Linked DNA regions of Homo sapiens: region 2 is linked to region 1. Evidence: promoter capture Hi-C in human tissues and cell types (Jung and others, 2019). All regions are on one chromosome and are shown on one strand. The core of a region is centred on a gene start or on the middle of the fragment in contact, and the rest is flanking DNA. Distances in the headings are between cores, read along the strand shown. Region 1 holds the start of BBS9 (Bardet-Biedl syndrome 9). Region 2 has its middle 52 kb from the start of KBTBD2.

Region 1 (7,288 bases), core at 2,623-5,122:
CAGTTTCTATTTCTGCCACCTTTTTTCACTGAGATTCATTTAATTTCCCTAGTTTCACATTAAAAATGCTGTCTTCTTCATTTAAAATAATAATTTCTTTGCTTTTTTTTTTGAGATAGGGTTTCACTCTGTCATGCAGGCTGGAGTGTAGTTGCACGATCATGGCTCACTGCAGTCTTGACCTACTGGGCTCAAGCAGTCCTCCAACTTCAGCCCCCTTAGTAGCTGAGATTAAAGGCACACGTAACCACGCCCGGCTAATTTTTGTATTTTTTGTAGAGACAGGATTTTGTCATGTTGCCCAGGCTGGTCTCGAACTCCTGGGCTCAAACGATCTGCCCACCTCGGCCTCCCAAAGTGCTTGGATTATGGACATTGCACCCGTCTGGTAATATCATTTCTTGAGGTAGAGTTTTGCTTTTGAAATTTCTCAGATTTCGTATCTCAGTGGTTCAAATTTGCCATGTCTTGCTATTTGATTTCCAGGTCATATATCATTGCATTCAGGTTTTCTCCTCTTTAGAAAGCCTGGGATGGTAACTCTCTCCTTCAATTTTTTCATCAGTTGCTATACAATTTTTTTTTTTTGGTTCTAATTGCTGGTATGGCCTGACACTAAAGGTTTATCCTGAAGGCCTAGAAATCAATGCTCTTTTTCAATATAACTTGATTCTGTACTCTTGGCTTTTCTTGATACATGTGAATTGTTATAATCATGACCTGGGACACATCTTCCTGTATCTGATTAAATTCAAGTACCCTTTTCATCAGATTCGACCTCCAGGTTATCTAAATGAGCTCCCCAAAAGGAGAAACAATCACATTGCAGAAAGTTTTTCTTTACTTTTTTGGTACCTGGCCTAAGGAAGATTATACATTTTATCAACATAATTTCCTGTGTTGCTTTTATTAGATTTGATTTTTTTTTAACCTGAAGTTTAAAATGGTTAAGATAGTTTTAATGTAATTATTTGTATGGCTTTTTAAGCCTTTTGATTATCACTCTGGTTATATAAATGACTTATTTCACAAGTAACTTGTGATTCTGTATTGATACAGTGTTTTGAGCCCTTTAAAAACTTCCTCAAAATCAAATTCCAATTTAAGTTTTTTAAATGTAGAATTAACTTTGGAATTTTCCAGTTGGACTCCTGGAAAGCATTAAAACATATCTTTCTCATCTTTTAGAGGTATTAAATGATTTGGGTTATTTGGTAAATTTTATAAGAAATATTGTCAAACGATAACTGATACTAGATTTTTCTTTTATTTGCATTTATGGGAATATTGTTTATATGAATGTTTGAAAAATTATATAAGTCCATACAAGTATGCTGGGAATGATGGCTCATGCCTATAATCCCAACACTTTGGGAGGCTGAGGTCAGAGGATTACTTATAGCCAGGAATTTGTGTCCAGCTTGGGCAACAAAACAAGACCCTGTCTCTATTAAAACAAAACAAAACAAAACAAAAACAAAAAAAACCAAAAAAAAACCAAGCATGGTGGTACAAACGTGTAGTCCCAGCTACTTGAGAGGCTGAGGCAGAAGGATTGCTTGAGTCCAGGAGTTTGAGATTGCAGTCAGCTATGAATGTGCCACTGCACTCTAGCCTGGGCAATAGAGCAAGACCCCATCTTTAAAAAAAATTCGTACAAATGTATTATATTACCAGTCATAATTCTGGTTATCTTAAAATACTGTATATAATAGCAATAAATAAATGTTCTTCTCAGTTGTTAACTTCATCAGATTTTTAACCATGGCTATTTTAAGTTTTTGTCATCCATATTATTGTTTTGAATTCTTTTTTAAAAAACAGACTCCTGGAAAATATTCTAACAAGTACTCTTTTATTTTTATTTATTTATTTTTGAGACAATCTTGCTCTGATGCCCAGGCTGGGGTGCAGTGGCACGATCCTGGTTCATTGCAACCTCTGCCTCCCTGGTTCCAGTGATTCTCATGCCTCAGCCTCCTGAGTAGCTGGGATTACAGGCATGCGCTACCACGCTGGGTTAATTTTTTGTATTTTTAGTAGAGATGGGGTTTCACTATATTGGCCAGGCTTTTCTCCAACTCCTGGCCTCAAATGATCCTCCCGCCTTGGCCTCCCAAATTGCTGGGATTACCGGCATGAACCATTGTGCCTGGCCCTAAAATATACTCTTAGATTTGGGTTTCTAACAACTTGAAGATCAATGGACAATATAACAATTTCCAGAACTGTAATAAAAAAGTGGGTTCATGAAACTATTAATCAAGATCAGGCAGAACAAGAATTAATTACGTGAGTTTAACTAATGAAGACAATGTTTTTATGATATTATTTCAAATGTTGTTGGTTCTTTACTCAAATAGTTTTTTCCAGATTTAAGAAAATCTTGTCTTTTAAGCTATTTATAATTTACAGCAATTTGATAGAGTATACTTGTGTAAAAAAAGATAAAAACTTTTTTTCTCTTTACTTGATTCCTCCATAATTAGAAAACCATTTGTGAGTCTTCTTATGGTAATATGGTCATTTCAATAAGTCTAATAAAAATCTGCTCTCTCTGTATAGCAGAATACAATTGGAAACTGGTTATATTACCAAGGCTTTGACTGAAAGGTCATTTTTAAAAATATTGAGGCCGGACGCGGTGGCTCACGCCAGCAATCCCAGCACTTTGGGGGACTGAGGTGGGTGGATCGTTTGAACCCAGGAGTTCGAGAGCAACCTGGACATGGCGAAACTCCATCTCTACAAAAAATACAAAAATTAGCCAGGTGTGGTGGTCTGTGCCTGTAGTCCCAGCTTACTAGGAAGGCTAAGGTGGGAGAATCGTTTGAGCCCGGGAGGCTGAGGCTTCAGTGCTTCAGTGAGCAGTGATCCTGTCACTGCACTCCAGTCTAGGCGACCCTGTCAGGGAGACCCAGTCTCAGTTAAAAAAAAAAAAAAAACCCAAAACCCAAAAAACTAAAACTAGAATGGTATTTTCTACTGGGAATGTGGATTTGTGGATTGATGGTGAAATACTGGAAATTTAAAGCCTACACTAGAATCCATTGAAAAAAGCAAACAAGAAAAACTTCAAGGTTGGCTACATTGAATTTGAATGTAAAGATTAAAAAAAAATAAGTAAAAAACAAAAGAAGACATAGATCCAATCCCATATACCAGGAAATGCACTCTAAGGTATATACGGAAAATATATTTAACACATGTGTATCAGGACGCAGGCACAAGTAACTTCAAAGCAGCGCTGTTTCAAATAGTAAAAAAAGGAAAAACTGGAAACTGTTCAAAAGCTTCATCATCTCGATGATCTTGGTCTTCCGCCTCGCCTTCTTCTCCAAGGTGAATATGTACTGGGCCAGCACCACCCCCGCCACCAGGGCGCACACGCTGGCGCTCGCTACCGCGACCACCCTCGCCACGGTCGCGCGGTGCATGGACGGGGCCCTCATGAGTGTCCCGGCAGGAAAAAAACACCGCGATTGGGACTCTCAGAAGCGCAGGATCCCAGAGCACCATGGACAAGCCAGTGACGCCCCGCCCCCACTAGGCCCCACCCACACGCACCGAGGGGAGAGGGCGGTCACGCGGCCGGGGGGGCGTGGCCTGCCCCCGGAGCCCAGGCAGGAGGAGGGTCTTCCTTAAGGAACTGCTGCCAGGACAGGGCAGAGGATTGCAGTAATTATCACTCTCTGCTAATGAGGACCAGGCCGTGGTTCACTCGAGCCCCGCCCCAGTAGCAATCTAATTCCAACCGCGGCCCTCTCAGAAGTCGGTCCCCGCCTTTGCGCCTCAGCCTCTCTGGACTCCAGCCCCCAGAAGTCGGCGCGGCACGGCGTGACCTGCGCAGTGGCGTCCGTTGTAAGTGCTATGACAACAGGGCGAAGATGGCTCAGAGTTAGGCTGGAGAGGGGAGGTGTCCCTTCCGCTGCGGCCGTCGGGTTTCTGCTACATCCCATTCACCGCCTCCTCCATCCTTTCCTCCTCGGTGTGAGCAGCAGGACTTGCATTTGTTCTCGCCTGCCTAGTGTCTTCCAAGGGATAGATGCCGTTTCCTCTGCTGGTCTCTGGGGGTGACGGGGGGCGCAGGGGAGCTTCTTGGGGGAATCACTCCAACTCTGTGGAGCTGGTGGTGCTGCCTGGTGGGGCTCTCTCTTTGCCCGGGACGTGGAACAACTTTCAGCTGGAGGACGAGAGGGAATAGTGAAGCTAAAGGTTGCTTTTCTCTGCACCGTCCGTTCTTGCTCCCTCTGCTCCATCACTGGGACCTTGTCAGGCGTTCATAAAGCAAAATTTGCCGAACGAGGGTTCGCAGAAAGGTGGGGCAGAGCTCATCTGACGTGGCATCAGGTAAGATGGTATGTCTGTTGTTAAACTTCGGGTACATGAATACCCTTTCCATGTTTTATTTTGTGAACAAGATTCTCTAATGCAGTATAATGGTTTGGAGTCTGTAAGGTGATTGATTTCTTAGATGTTTGCACTGAAATAAACAAACACTAGGAGCACAAAGTGTATGAGATTCTGTGAGTACTTTTGAGAAAAAAGGGATGAGAATTTTTAAGGATTCCATTGAGGAATGTCACTTGGAGCATGAGCATCCTCCTGAGACACTTCAACAGGTCTGTGAGTAAATGGGCAAAGCAGTTCCCAGCCTACGACTGAAGTAGGATGCATGTACTAATACCCCCAATCCTTCTAGTAATAGGATTATTGTTTCTCCTCTTGTTACTTGGAGACCACAACAGTTTAGATGAGCTGCGCTGATTTTATCAGCACCTCCTGCCAGTCAAATCCTGCCTTTGACTTCAATTTCCTGGAGAAATGTATTTTTTTGGGTATCTCACTTTTACTTTAAAAATGAAACCGTATCTTACAGGTATACACATCTTACATGTCCTCATTGATAAACAACTTGAAAGATGCTGCAGGATAAGCTATGGGTCTTAAGTTGGCCAGCATTCAGAGAAAGATTTTCTAACTTATTAGCATTTTATAAAGAAAACAATTACTGAGATTTTTTTCATGAATATACGGAAGAATTAAAAAAAAAACTAGAAAACCCAGAAGTTTTTAAAGAAGAATTTTAAAAAACTTTATTTTGAAAATAAGTTACAAGTTATTTGTCAGAGTTTAAGGGATTTTTCCTTGTGTGTAATTGTCGTGGTTAAATTACAACTATACACTTATATTTATGGTACAACTTCTTGATAGAAATGCTCACTGAAGGGAAAAAATCCAACAGCAATAGTATATATAGTAATTTTAAAACTTTTACACCTTTTGAGGGATGTAGTAAGTCTTACGCTTTAGAATACTTTGAAATATTTTTGAAAATTATTAAAATACATGAAATTATTATAAAACATCCCTGCTGGTTAATAACATTTCCATTAGTGATTACTATCAGTCTTTGTGAGTCCCATTTAAAATTTCGGTCCAGAGGGTGAGTTTGGCATTCGTAATTGTGTCTTGCACAGAACACACTACCACCGTCTCTTTCAACTACCACTACTACCACTGTCTCTCCTACTAGCACTGTTTCTACTGTTGGGTTATTACTGACATCTATTGAGTACTTGCTATGGGTTGAGCCATTTTATCCTCCTCCACCCTAGAACAATTGAGATACTAGAGGATAAGGGACTTGTTTAAGATCATGTAGTGTAACGTGGTCAGAAAGTGCACCCAGAGCTGTCCTACTCCAAATTTTGTGTTATTTTGCCCTTTGAGTCTTTTGTTGAAAATTCCAACAGTGAGCCCTTGTATTATTGCCTTCAAAAGCAGTATACTTCTTTTGAACACTACATGCATTTGTCATCTTTCTTTGACTGGAAGACCTGATTTCTACTTTCTTAAATTTGGTGTGACACTGGCATAACCTGGAGAAAGCAAAGCTCTGAAAATGAACAACAGCTGCAAGGTCTGTTTCCAGAACTGACCTTCAAACCTGTATGTTTTTTCCACAGCATTCTTTGGGGTTATTGTTTTCACAGCTGATCATATTGTAGGACTAGGTCAATGAGGTGTTCAAGACCAGCCTGGGCAACATAGTGAGACCTCGTCTTTGCCGAGCATGGCAGAAAAAATAAAAATTATTAAAACTTTTTAAAATATTAAAAAAAGAACAATAGCAAATTAAATTCAGAAGGTCAGCAAAAAAAGGTCAGCCACCTCTTAAATGAAACCTAAATCTGAGTAAACTTGTTGTAGAAAAAAAAGTATTCAAAACAAAAAAGTGTCAAGTGAAGAGTATAGAAGAGAATTTCTGGAGTTTAGGGGATAAGGAGATTATCTCCCATTTATTATTCTAATAAGGCATTAGAAACTAATCTGTTATGCCTGTTTATAGGACTGCACCTGTTACAACCTTCAAATTATTGTCTTCTAATCATCCTTTAACAATTTAATCAAATTTATGACATACTTGCCTGTAGTTTGAACTTGTAGTGTTTAGAATTAGTGTGAATAGAGCTATTGCTTTTATAGTCTACATGGAGGGGCGTGTGCATAGGCCGTTTGTTTAGGGTTCTGGAGTAGACAGTCTGGGTTTAGGTACCGCACATCACTTAACTAGTGAGACCACTGGCACGGATTTCTTAACTTCTCTGTATTCAAGGATACCTGAATAATAGTATCTACAATTTACTTTGTAGTTTTGTTATGAATATCAAAATAGAATGCTTGCAAAGCATTTAGAATCCTGACTGGCTTTAGTAAATGATTAGTAGATACTTTCCTTTAAGGCGAAGTCATTAAAAACCTGGTTTTTATTTTCCAATTACTTAAAGACAAATCAGTGAGCAACTGGAAATCAACACTGAATGAAAAGGGGATAAAATGCAAACCTCGGTTCCTTATTCAAGACAGTTAACTAAACTGAATTAAAAAAACATTGTATACATATTTTATTTTTTGTTATTTAAAACACTTTTTGTTTATTTTGTAACCCAAAAGCCAGGTTTCATGACCAAAAAATGTTTTATTACTATTGTTCCTTACCATCTTTCCTAACCTGTCAGTACCAGACCTCCCACACCTACCTGCTTATCTTAATATCTCAATGTCAAGGCCTATATCTTTCCTAGATTGGAATACAGATTAGCATTTTATTTGTGTCTCAATTTATGGCTAATTTTTCATTTTCTTGATGACTTGGGATGTCTTCCAGGAGAAAGGGCAGAATTTATTTTGCTGACCTTCTGAATTTAATTTGCTATTGTTCTTTTTTTAATATTTAAAAAAGTTGTAATAATTTTTATTTTTTCTGCCATGCTTGGCAAAGATG
Region 2 (7,288 bases), core at 2,116-4,615, 290 kb before region 1:
AGCACAAGCCACTAGCCCGCCTCTTAAAACCTCTCATTTCCTTTCCATTGTAGAAAACTGTCCTCAAGGAAATAACTTCTCAGTGTTCCATCTGCTATTCTACTACTCCTCAAGGATTATTCAGGCCCCCTCCCTTCCCTACACATCAAGCTTAAGGATTTGCCCCCACCCAGGACTGGCAAATTAGCTTTACTCAACATGCCCTGAGTCACAAAAACTAAAATACCTCTTAGTCTAAGTAGACACTTTCACTAGATAGGTAGAGGCCTTTCCTACAGGGTCTGAGAAGGCCACCACAGACATTTCTTCCCTTCTGTCAGACATAATTCCTCAGTTTAGCCTTCCCACCTCTATACAGTCTGATAACAGACCAGCCTTTATTAGTCAAATCAGCCAAGCAGTTTTTCAGACTCTTAGTATTCAGTGAAACCTTTATATCCCTTACAGTCCTCAGTCTTCAGGAAAAGTAGAACATACTAAAGGTCTTTTAAAAACACACCTTACCAAGCTCAGCCACCAACTTAAAAAGGAATAGACAATACTTTTACCACTTTCCCTTCTCAGAATTCAGGCCTGTCCTCAGAATGCTACAAAGTACAGCCCATTTGAGCTCCCATATAGATGCTCCTTTTTATTAGGCCCCAGTATCATTCCAGACACCAGACCAACTTGGACTGTGCCCCAAAAAACTTGTCATCCCTACTGTCTTCTGTCTAGTCATACTCCTATTCACTGTTCTCAGCTACTCATACGTGCCCTGCTCTTGTTTACACTGCCAGTTTACACTGTTTCTCCAAGCCATCACAGCTGATATCTCCTGGTGCTAGCCCCAAACCGCCACTCTTAACTCTTATAGTAAATAAATAATCTTTGCAGGCAAGGCTATGCTGAACCTCCTTAGGCACTCTCTAATTAGATGTCCTAGGTCCTCCCAATTCTTAGTCCTTTAATACCTGTTTTTCTCCTTGTCTTATTCCATTTAGTTTTTCAATTCATACAAAACTGTATCCAGGTCATCACCAATAATTCTAAATGACAAATGTTTCTTCTAACAACCCCACAATATCACCCCTTACCACAAAATCTTCCTTCAGCTTAATCTCTCCCACTCTAGGTTCCCACGCCACCCCTAATCCCGCTCAAAGAAGCCCTGAGAAACATCGCCCATTATCTCTCCATACCACCCCCAAAAATTTTTGCCGTCCCAACACTTTACCACTATTTCATTTTATTTTTCTTATTAATATAAGAAGACAGGAATGTCAGGTCTCTGAGCCCAAGCTAAGCCATCGTATCCCCTGTGACCTGCATGTACACATCCAGATGGTGGGTTCCTGCCTTAACTGATGACATTCCACCACAAAAGAAGTGAAAATGGCCTGTTCCTGCCTTAACTGATGACATTGTCTTGTGAAATTCCTTCTCCTGGCTCATCCTGGCTCAAAAGCTCCCCAACTGAGTACCTTGTGACCCCCACTCCTGCCCACCGGAGAAAAACCCCCCTTTTTCCTTTACCTACCCCAATCCTACAGAAGGGCCCCACCCCATCTCCCTTCGCTGACTCTCTTTTCGGACTCAGCCCGCCTGCACCCAGGTGATTAAAAGCTTTATTGCTCACACAAAGCCTGTTTGTTGGTCTCTTCACATGGACGCGCATGAAAGCTACATGACAGGATTGTTTAAAAACTAAAGTAATTTAAGGGGAAAAAAGGAAATGAGATCAGGAATGTAAGAAGTGCCCTGCTTTCTCTGCAGTTATATAATGCATACTGATTTTTAACATGTACATTCATTTTTCTAGGCCTGGTTGCAGTATGCCTGAAATTTGGGATGTAGAAGATCCTGCCAATGCTGGGAAAACTCCCTTATGTAACCTCTTGGTGAAGGATTCCAAACCTCACTTCACCACTGTATTCCAGAACAGTGTTTACAAAGTCCTAGAAGTTGTAAAAGAATGACTGCTACATGACCTGCTGCCTACGGAGAACTACATCTCTAATGGTTTTAATGTTTTGCTAAGTCATGTGTTGTTCATATCCCAAAAACTTTTATAGGTAACTGTTTTCAAATAGAAAATGTTTTATTTGGTCAATTTGAATGTCATTCTAATTATAAAAATGACTCATACCTTTCATGCGCGTCCGTGTGAAGAGACCACCAAACAGGCTTTGTGTGAGCAACATGGCTGTTTATTTCACCTGGGTGCAGGTGGGCTGAGTCCAAAAAGAGAGTCAGCATAGGGAGATAAGGGTGGGGCCATTTTATAGGATTTGGGAAGGTAATGGAAAATTACAATCAAAGGGGGTTGTTCTCTGGTGGGCAGGGGTGGATCTCACAAAGTACATTCTCAAGTGTGGGGAGAATTACAAAGAACCTTCTTAAGGGTGGGGGAGATTACAAAGTACATTGATCAGTTAGGGTGGGGCAGGAACAAATCACAATGGTGGAATGTCATCAGTTAAGGCTGTTTTTACTTCTTTTGTGGATCTTCAGTTACTTTAGGCCATCTGAATGTATACGTGCAAGTCACAGGGGATGCGATGGCCTGGCCTGGGCTCAGAGGCCTGACATTCCTGCCTTCTTATATTAATAAGACAAATAAAACAAAATAGTGTTGAAGTGTTGGGGCGGCGAAAATTTTTGGGGGGTGGTATGGAGAGAGAATGGGTGATGTTTCTCAGGGCTGCTTCAAGCGGGATTAGGGGTGGCGTGGGAACCTAGAGTGGGAGAGATTAAGCTGAAGGGAGGTCTTGTGGTAAGGGGTGATATTGTGGGGATGTTAGAAGAAACATTTGTCGTATAGAATGATTGGTGATGGCCTGGATACGGTTTTGGATGAATTGAGCGAGCTTAATGTGTAGGGAAGGGAGGGGGCCTGAATAATCCCTGAGGAGTAGTAGAATAGCAGATGGAACACTGAGAAGTTATTTCCTTGAGGATAGATTTCCACGATGGAAAGGAAATGAGAGGTTCTAAGAGGCGGGATAGTGGCTTGTGCTATAGCATAGCCTGCCTTTGCTGGTGTGTGGCGATTAGGCCTGGTGGAACTGCCATCAATAAATCAAGCGTGATCAGGGTGAGGAACAGGAAAGAAGGAAATATGGGGAAATGGGGTGAATGTCAGGTGGATCAGAGAGATACAGTCATGGGGGTCAGGTGTGGTATCAGGAATAATGTGGGAGGCCAGATTGAAGTCCGGGCCAGGAACAATGGTAATTGTGGGACTTAACAAAGAGTGAGTACAGCTGAAGGAGCTGGGGAGCAGAAAGTATATGCGTCAGGTATAAGGAAGAAAAAGATTTCGGAAGTTATGAGAAATGTAGAGTGAGTTGAGCATAGTTTGTGATTTTTAGGGCCTCTAGAAGTATTAAAGCATCGGCAGCCGCTGCATGCAGACATGAGGGCTAGGCTAAAACAGTAAGGTCAAGTTGTTTGGACAGAAACGCTGCAGGGTGTGGTCCTGGCTCTTGTGTAAGAATTCTGACCATGCTAACCATGCCTAGGAAGGAAAGGAGTTGTTGTTTTGTAAGGGATTGAGGTTTGGGAGATTAATCGGACACGATCAGCAGGGAGAGCATGTGCGTTTTTATGAGAATTATGCTGAGATAGGTAACAGATGAGGATGAAATTTGGGCTTGACTGAAGTAATGGGGGCTGTCTGTGAAGCCTTGCGGCAGTACAGCCCAGGTAATTTGCTGAGCCTAATGGGTGTCAGGGTCAGTCTAAGTGAAGGCAAAGAGAGGCTGGGATGAAGGGTGCAAAGAAATAGTAAAGAAAGCATGTTTGAGATCCAGAACAGAATAATGGGTAATAGAGGGAGGTATTGAGGATAGGAGAATATATGGGTTGGGCACCATGGGGTGGATAGGCAAAACAATTTGGTTGATAAGGCGCAGATCCTGAACTAACTTGTAAGCCTTGTCTGGTTTTAGGACAGGTAAAATGGGGGAATGGTAAGGAGAGTTTATAGGTTTTAGAAGCCCATACTGTAGCAGGCGAGTGATAACAGGCTTTAATCCTTTTAAAGCATGCTGTGGGATGGGATATTGGCGTTGAGCAGGGTAAGGGTGATTCGATTTTAACGGGATGGTAATGGGCATGTGATCGGTTGCCAGGGAAGGAGTAGAGATGTCCCATATTTGTGGGTTAAGGTGGGGGGATATGAGAGGAAGATGCAAAGGAGGCTTTGGGCTGGGGAGAAGGGTGGCAATGAGATGCAGCTGTAGTCCAGGAATAGTCAGGGAAGCAGATAATTTGGTTAAAATATCTCGGCCTAATAAGGGAACTGGGCAGGTGGGGATAACTAAAAAAGAGTGCATAAGAGTGTTGTCCAAGTTGGCACCAGAGTGGGGGAGTTTTCAGGGGTTTTGAAGCTTGGCCGTCAATACCCACAACAGTTATGGAGGCAAGGGAAACAGGCCCTTGAAAAGAAGGTAATGTGGAGTGGGTAGCCTCCGTATTGATTAAGAAGGGGACGGACTTATCTTCCACTGTGAGAGTTACCCAAAGCTCGGCGTCCGTGATGGTCTACAGGGCTTCTGAGGCGATCGGGCAGCATGAGTCTTCAACCGCTAAGCCGAGAAGGAGTCAGTCAGAGAGCCTTGGGCCAGAGTTCCAGGGGCTCCGGGAGTGGCTGCCAGGTGAGTTGAACAGTCCGGTTTCCAGTGGGGTCCCACACAGATGGGACACGGCTTAGGAGGAATCCTGGGCTGCAGGCATTCCTTGGCCTGGTGGTCAGATTTCTGGCACTTGTAGCAAGCTCCTGGGGGAGGAGGTTCTGGAGGAACGCCTGGCCGCTGCGGTTCAGGCGTTTGGAAGTTCTTGTGTGCTGGAGATGTGGCTGGGATTTGTCTCACAGTGGAGGCAAGGAATTGCAACTTTTTTCTATTATTGTACACCTTGAACGCGAGGTTAATTAAATCCTGTTGTGGGGTTTGAGGGCCGGAATTTAATTTTTGGAGTTTTATTTAATGTCGGGAGCAGATTGGGTAATAAAATGTATATTGAGAATAAGATGGCCTTTTGACCTTTTAGTTTCTAGGGCTGTAAAGCATCTCAGGGTTGCTGCTGAACGAGCCATGAACTGGGCTGGGTTTTTATATTTGATGAAAAAGAGCCTAAACGCTTCTGATTTGGGATAAAGAAAAAGGAGCATGAACCTTGACTATGCCTTTGGCTCCAGCCACCTTTTTAAGAGTAAATTGCTGGGCAGGTGGGGGAGGGCTAGTCACAGAACGAAACTGTAAGCCGGACCAGGTGTGAGGAGGGGAGGCGATAAAAAGATTACAGGGTGGAGGAGCGGAGGCTGAGGAAGAATTGGGACCTAGCTTGGACTGGCGAGGAGGGGAGAGGTCAGATGGGTCTGTAGAAAAGGAAGATTAGAAACACTTGGTGATGCTTGGGGTTGGGACTGAGGTGACAGGCGGGAGGGAAAGAAGGAAGATTTGGGACGAGTTGCACTGGGCACAGAGACTAGGAAGGGACTGATGTGTAAAAGAATGCCTGGATGTCAGGCACCTCAGACCATTTGACCCTTTTACGACAAGGATTATTTAGATCTTGTAGGATGGAAAAATTCAAAGTGCCATTTTCCGGCTATTTGGAACTACTGTCGAGTTTGTATTGGGGCCAAGCGGTGTTGCAGAAGAAAATAAGGTGTTTAGGTTTTAGGTGAGGTGTAAGTTGAAGAGGTTTTAAGTTCTTGAGCACACAGGCTAAGGGAGAAGAGGGAGGAATGGAGGGTGGAAGGTTGCCTATATTGAAGGAAGCAAACCCAGAGAAAAGAGAACGTAGAGACATGAAGGGAAGGGGTTTGGGGGTTCTTTCCCCCTAGAAAAGCGGGACTTGCCACTAAGGGTGAAGGAGAAGGGGTTGAGGGGTACTTGCCCCTGCCCCAGGAAAGCAGAGAAGGGGTAGAGACAAGGAGAGAAGGGGTTGGGGTACTTGGCCATTCCCCAGGAAAGCAGAGAAGGGGTAGAGACAAGGAGAGAAGGGGTTGGGGTAATTGCCCTTTCCCCAGAAAAGTGGGACTTGCCGCTAAGGGTGAAGGACCAAGGCAGGCGTCCCTGCGTGGTCTGACACCCTTGAAACGTGGGTGTATAATCAGAGAGGCGTCCCTGCAATGATTAAACACCAAGGGAAGACTTCCTTCCCAGTCCGTGACCGGCGCCGGAGTTTTGGGTCCACGGATAAAACGTGTCTCTTTTGTCTCTACCAGAAAATGAAAGGAATTGAAATTAAGAGAAGGGAGAGATTGAAGTGTAGCACCAAGATTGAAAGGAGAAAGAGGTTGACGGATAGTGAAGGAAGTTGGAGAAGAGAGTAAAGAGAGGCCGCTTACCGGATTTGAAATTGGTGAGATGTTTCTTGGGCTGGTCTGTCTGAGGACCTGAGGTCGTAGGTGGATCTTTCTCATGGAGCAAAGAGCAGAAGGAGGGGGGATTGATCTCCCAAGGGAGGTCCCCCGATCCAAGTCACGGCACCAAATTTCATGCGCGTCCATGTGAAGAGACCACCAAACAGGCTTTGTGTGAGCAACATGGCTGTTTATTTCACCTGGGTGCAGGTGGGCTGAGTCCGAAAAGAGAGTCAGCATAGGGAGATAAGGGTGGGGCCGTTTTATAGGACTTGGGAAGGTAATGGAAAATTACAATCAAAGGGGGTTGTTCTCTGGTGGGCAGGGGTGGATCTCACAAAGTACATTCTCAAGTGTGGGGAGAATTACAAAGAACCTTCTTAAGGGTGGGGGAGATTACAAAGTACATTGATCAGTTAGGGTGGGGCAGGAACAAATCACAATGGTGGAATGTCATCAGTTAAGGCTGTTTTTACTTCTTTTGTGGATCTTCAGTTACTTTAGGCCATATGGATGTATATGTGCAAGTCACAGGGGATGCGATGGCCTGGCCTGGGCTCAGAGGCCTGACAATACCTTTATCAATTGGTTACTATTTCAATGCCCCCTTTAAAATTTGCTATGCAAATGAGTATATGCTTGTACTTGACTTCCATATTTGTGCTAAAGTGAGCAAAGTTATCTATATAAAGAAAACACAATGAGTTGTGACAAGGATGACGTGAAAATACAGGACAATTCTGACAATGTAGGGGCTGATTTTATAGTGTAAGAACTATTAATGCCCCTTGCTTCTTTTTTCTGCCTCTTGCTCTTGTCTTTTGGACATTTCAGTGATTGTAAGTTCTTCGGTCATGTCAGCCCCTGTCATCAACTTGAGTTACAGTAGATGGGGCAGACATGGAGTGTTTGCTTTGCGGAACTATCTGTCTG

What was found. The method cuts DNA at HindIII sites, captures the fragments that hold promoters and counts their contacts. A contact is called where the count stands out against the background at its distance.
Region 2: a fragment that was not itself captured here is called in contact with the fragment with the promoter of BBS9 in region 1 in 1 of the 25 tissues and cell types used here (spleen).

The regions. Positions count from the first base shown.
Region 1 is chr7:33,125,692-33,132,979 of GRCh38, forward strand. BBS9 (Bardet-Biedl syndrome 9) reads left to right here and starts at 3,873. Exons shown (of 23, transcript NM_198428.3): 1 at 3,873-4,350. RefSeq lists enhancers at 3,286-3,335, 3,826-3,935 and a silencer at 3,476-3,775. The HindIII fragment of the contact is 11,941 bases long and covers 1,619-7,288 here.
Region 2 is chr7:32,836,613-32,843,900 of GRCh38, forward strand. It overlaps the pseudogene DPY19L1P2. Among named protein-coding and RNA genes, the nearest start is that of KBTBD2, 52 kb to the right of the region's middle. The HindIII fragment of the contact is 4,977 bases long and covers 878-5,854 here.